Linked DNA regions of Homo sapiens: region 2 is linked to region 1. Evidence: promoter capture Hi-C in 16 types of primary human blood cells and fetal thymus (Javierre and others, 2016). All regions are on one chromosome and are shown on one strand. The core of a region is centred on a gene start or on the middle of the fragment in contact, and the rest is flanking DNA. Distances in the headings are between cores, read along the strand shown.

Evidence for each region. The method cuts DNA at HindIII sites, captures the fragments that hold promoters and counts their contacts. A CHiCAGO score of 5 or more calls a contact.
Region 2: a fragment that was not itself captured here is called in contact with the fragment with the promoter of VSX2 in region 1 in 2 of 17 cell types (M1 macrophages and M0 macrophages); the score reaches 6.8 in M1 macrophages.

The regions. Positions count from the first base shown.
Region 1 is chr14:74,238,081-74,240,888 of GRCh38, forward strand. VSX2 (visual system homeobox 2) reads left to right here and starts at 1,369. Exons shown (of 5, transcript NM_182894.3): 1 at 1,369-1,851. The coding sequence starts at 1,482. RefSeq lists an enhancer at 2,720-2,808. The HindIII fragment of the contact is 12,282 bases long and covers 1-2,808 here.
Region 2 is chr14:74,101,563-74,104,262 of GRCh38, forward strand. All of the region lies in intron 5 of LIN52 (lin-52 DREAM MuvB core complex component), which reads left to right. All of the region lies in intron 1 of LOC105370563 (a long non-coding RNA gene), which reads right to left. Among named protein-coding and RNA genes, the nearest start is that of LIN52, 18 kb to the left of the region's middle. The HindIII fragment of the contact is 3,512 bases long and covers 1-2,700 here.

The DNA.
Region 1 (2,808 bases), core at 119-2,618:
ATTCCAGCTGTTATGTGGACCAAACCAATGGGAGTGGAGACCCTCCTCACAACAGCCCTGCTAGCAAGGTCTAGGTTCCACATCCTGAGGTGCCTCCTCTTACCTCTCAGGCTGGCCCCATGGCAGCCACGAGGGTACCAGACACCTTGGCAATAGGCCAGGTATGGCTAGGGGGTTTCCTTCCATTTGGGGGTTTGCACCTGACTGGCTAAGAAATCCTGGATGGAATCTTCCCAGCCTGGTTTTCCAATCTCTGCTTAAAGCAATGGACCTAGTCCTTATCTCCCCATAGGGTGCCTTCAATTCAAGGAACCTACCATGAACTGACCATATGCTAGGCGCAGTGAAGAAGGGAGCCTCAAGGTCGATAAGATAGTTCCCAGCCCCAAGAAGGTCACAGAAGAGTTAGCTGAGGTGGTGGAGTGCAGGGGAAAGCAGCTTACCTTTTAATTTCCTCTCACCCGCTTCCTCCTTCCTCTCCCTCCACATCAACAATCCCTTCCTCTTCATTCTGTTTGCTCAATGAACTCTGAAGTATAGCAGGGCCCTTGCCTTGTCTGATTTACTGCGGAACCCCTGGCTACCAGGTCGGAGCTAGTAGCTCAATACATATTAGTCGAATGAATTGGGTGGAAGAATCAAGTCCTCCCATGAAAGTTGGGCATGCTTCATGCTTACTCTAGGAAGAGGTTTGGATGTCCATGGTTGTTCTCCAAAAGTAATCATCACTGTTCCTCTTTCCCACCAGGGACCCCTCTTTCTGACCCATTTATCATTCATTCATTGGGCCAATATGTGTTGAGTAGCTCTTCCGAACTAGGCATTATACCTTGTGCTGGGGAAGCAAACTTTCCCTACCCCTACATCACCCTCTGCACACCTTGGCCTGATCTTTTCCCAGCTTACCACCACACACACTGCCCCAGCACTTACCTCTCCCTTGTTCAACCGTTTACACAGAGGTGCCATATTCAGGCCGCCCTGATGCTGCCAACCTGCATAGGAGTTGAGGGAAGGAGGTCTCCCAGTCTCTCACCTCTGCCCTTAGCCCATCCTTCCACCTGACCTCAGGGACCTGTCCCTGCCAGAATCTGCCCAGAGCCCCAAGCCACTCTGCCTCCCGGAACAGCCCTGAACCTGAACCTGGTTGTCTCACTTCGGCCCCTGGGGTCCCTGCCCATGGGCATCCTGCAGAGCCCACCCGGTGCTCCACCCCCAGCACCCTGGCCATTCGACATTGCCTGCGGCGGGAGCTGCCAGCTTTTTGGAATTCCTAATCGCTCCTGGCCCCGGTGATTGGCTGCTCAGCTCTGACCCCACTTGGGCTGCCGCCTGGTTGGATAAAAGGGGAATCTCCTTGGGCTCCAGAGCATTAGACACCGGAGGGGGCACCTGGGACCAACTTCGCGAAGCGGGAAGCCCGGCGGGGGGGTGGGGGGAGCTAAAGACCTGCGGCCTCAGCCCCTCCAAAGAACAGGGAGATGACGGGGAAAGCAGGGGAAGCGCTGAGCAAGCCCAAATCCGAGACAGTGGCCAAGAGTACCTCGGGGGGCGCCCCGGCCAGGTGCACTGGGTTCGGCATCCAGGAGATCCTGGGCTTGAACAAGGAGCCCCCGAGCTCCCACCCGCGGGCAGCGCTCGACGGCCTGGCCCCCGGGCACTTGCTGGCGGCGCGCTCAGTGCTCAGCCCCGCGGGGGTGGGCGGCATGGGGCTTCTGGGGCCCGGGGGGCTCCCTGGCTTCTACACGCAGCCCACCTTCCTGGAAGTGCTGTCCGACCCGCAGAGCGTCCACTTGCAGCCATTGGGCAGAGCATCGGGGCCGCTGGACACCAGCCAGACGGCCAGCTCGGGTAGGTGAGGAGAGGTTGCGCTGCTGCCTGACTGGGGGGCGACAGCCGGGAGCCCCGCGCCGTCGGCTCTCGCTTGCTGGACCAGGCCTCCAGGCGGAAAAGTTCCTGCCAGGCCGGGGGTCGCCGCCTGGGCCTTGGGCCGACGCGCCTGGTGATGGGGCCCGGGAGGATGCTTCGGCGTCCGCAGGGTTTCGGCCCCAAGCGTTTCGGGCGGCCGCGCAGTTCTCCAGTCCCCGCGTCGGGCAGGGCTCGGCCACGGCACTCTGTTGGAGCCCCACTGAAAACTGGGTTTGGGGTGTCGGAGCCCGTGGTGCAGAGTCGCCGGCCGTGTCGGAGGGCCCCAGCACCGCTGCTCCACTGCGGCCCCGGCCTGGTGTAGGATCCGCACTCCTCGAGCCCGATGCTGTTCCGGCTCCGGCCCCATCCCTGGTGTCCAAAGTTGTCTGATTCCCAAATCCCGCGCTGGTCAACTGGGGTTTATTTTTCACCCCCACGAGCTCAGACAACCCGGCCATCGCGGCAGCTAAAGCGGCCGCCATCCTCTCCCACGTAAGCGCCACTATATACTGGAGCCCGGGGACGCGCGGGCTCGGGGACCCTGGGTGACCTCTCCGCCTTCTCCCCGCGCTGCTTTCCGGGAGGTGTGTCGCGGCCCGCTCGAACCTCCGATTCCTGTTTGAGCTTGGCAATTCCCCCGATTTTTCGTTGCGTTTTACTTTGTTTTACGTGGAAAGGCAACGAAAACCAGCGCGTCGCAGGCTCTCGGGCCTCGAGTAGGGACGCATTGTGCCGCCTTGCGAAAAGGACGGTGCTCGGCAGCCCCCAGTCTTCCCGGAGCCCAGCTCCCCACGCCTCCGCTCCGCTCCTCGCTCCTCGAGGCCAACTTTCCGGCCCGGGGCATTGGGGCTGGCCGCGCAGGGCAGGGCGCAGCAGGGTCGCGAGCGCTGCCGGGGATCT
Region 2 (2,700 bases), core at 1-2,500, 140 kb before region 1:
ATTCTCCTGCCTCAGCCTCCCAAGTAGCTGGGACTACAGGCGCCCGCCACTACGCCCGGCTGATTTTTTTTGTATTTTTAGTAGAGACGGGGTTTCACCGTTTTAGCCGGGATGGTCTCGATCTCCTGACCTCGTGATCCGCCCGCCTCGGCCTCCCAAAGTGCTGGGATTACAGGCGTGAGCCACCGCGCCCGGCCGATTTTTCTTTATACAGTAAAAGTATATTGAAATCCCTTCAGGTTATTATCTCATTTTTAAATAGACAGAGTCTTACTATGTTGCCCAGGCTGATCTTCAACTCCTGGGCTCAAGTGATCCTCCCACCTTAGCCTCTGAAGTAGCTGGGACTACAAGCATGTACCACCGTGCCTGGGTAATTAAAAAATTTTTTTTGTAGAGACAGAGTCTCACTATATTGCCCAGGTTGGTCTTGAACTCTTGGGTTTAAGTGATCTTCCTGCCTCAGCCTTCCAAAGTGCTGGGATTATGAACCACCGCACCCAACCAGCATTTTAGTTTACAAATAAATTTAAGGCTGGCCACAGTGGCTCATGCCTATAATCCCAGCTAGTTGGGAGGCTGAGGATGGAGAATCACTTGAACCTGGGAGGCAGAGGTTGCAGTGAGCCAAGATCATGCCACTGCACTCCAGCCTGGGCGACAGAGTAAGACTCTGTCTCAAAAACAAGAAAATTAATTTAAAATTTCTAATTTTCAACTGATAGTCGTCACTTCCTCAGACCTCTTTATCCTTCCTTTATTTCTATTACTGTCATCAGCAGTTGGCTTTCTTTTACCAAGAAAACATTTTTGAATTGGTTATGGAATCAAGAAATAGAGAACAACAAACTGCTTCAAGATATGGTTGTTAGCTGCTCTGCTAAGTTCACTCATTAGTACCTAACTCTTCTCTATATACTGGTAATTTATTTCTTATGATTAAAGTTTATACCTTGGCAAAATTACTAGTTACCATGTATGTCATGGACCTCCTTGATTTATAATGAAAAGGCAAATCTGTGATTAGTAAATTCATGAATGTGAGACTTTCATAGTCGATTTTGTTCCTTGATTTTGTTTCTAGCTTTGGATAATAAATGCTGTAATGATCATTGTGATCAAGGCTTTATCTCTTTGTGTCAATGTTTTTCAATGAAGTAAATGTTATGTTTGTTATATCAAGAAGATGCTATATTACCAAATAGATTTGTCAGTAGTATTATCTATAGTTATAGCTGAAATTATGGTTCCTCTAATTAGTTTCTCTTTTTCTGCTTTCCTACTGAGAAAGGTAATGAAGTATTTTTTCCTGCTTTTTATTATTTATACCAAAGTAGAGTGAACGGAATAATGACCCATGGCCCAGCTTCAGTAATCAACATATAGCCAATCTTGTTTTACTTATAACAATTTCCTGTAGCTACTTTAAAGCAAATTCCAGGCATCATATTACCCCATTGCCGAGTAACTTTGTATGTGTTTCCAGAAGACAAGGACTCTTACTTTCTTTTGCTGTTTTGTTTTGTTTTGTTTTGAGACAGAGTCTTACTCTGTGGCCCAGGCTGGAGTTCAGTGGTGCAATCTCGGCTCACGGCAACCTCCATCTCTTGGGTTCAAGTGATTTTCCTCCCTCAGCCTCCTAAGTAGCGGGGACTACAGGCATGCACCATGATGTCTGACCAATTTTTGTATTTTTAGTAGAGATGGGGTTTCACCCTGGTGGCCAGGCTGGTCTCAAACTCCTTACCTCAAATAATATGCTCACCTTGGCCTCCCAAAGTGCTGAGATTACAGGCATGAGCCACCACACCTGACATATTGTTTTTTTTCCTTTCTCTTCAGGAACAGTGGCACAAAATGTAAGATTTTTTTTTTTTTTTTTTTTTTGAGATGGAGTTTTGCTCTTGTTGCCCAGGCTGGAGTGCAATGACATGATCTTGGCTTACTGCAACCTCCACCTCCCAGGTTCAAGCGATTCTCCTGCCTCAGCCTCCTGAGTAGCTGGGATTACAGGCATGTGCCACCAGGCCCAGCTAATTTTGTATTTTTAGTAGAGATGGGGTTTTTCCATGTTGGTCAGGCTGGTCTTGAACTCCTGACCTCAGGTGATCTGCCCAACTCCGCCTCCCAAAGTGCTGGGATTACAGGTGTGAGCCACCGGGCCTGGCCAGTTTTTTTTTTTTTTTTTTTTTTTTTTTTTTTTTTTTAAGAGACTGGGTTTTTCTATGTTGCCTAGGCTGGACTTGAGTTCCTGGGCTCAAGCAATCAGCCCACCTCAGCCTTCTGAGTAGCTGAGACTACAGGCACATACCACTGTGCCTGGCTTTTTCTTTCTTTTTTTTTTTTTTGAGACGGAGTCTCGCTCTGTCGCCAGGTTGGAGGTTGAAGTGCAGTGGCGCGATCTTGGCTCACTGCAACCTCCGCCTCCTGGGTTCAAGCGATTCTCCTGCCTCAGCCTCCCAAGTAGCTGAGATTACAGGCTCATGCCACCATGCCTGGCTAATTTTTGTATTTTTAGTAGAGACGGGGTTTCACCATGTTGGCCAGAATGGTCTCAATCTCCTGACCTCGTGATCCACCTGCCTCAGCATCCCAAAGTGCCAGGATTACAGGAGTGAGCCACTGCGCCCAGCTGGCTACTGTTATTTTTTAAAAATATAACAATAGTTTCATTATTATAACTACAATTTTTTTAACAAA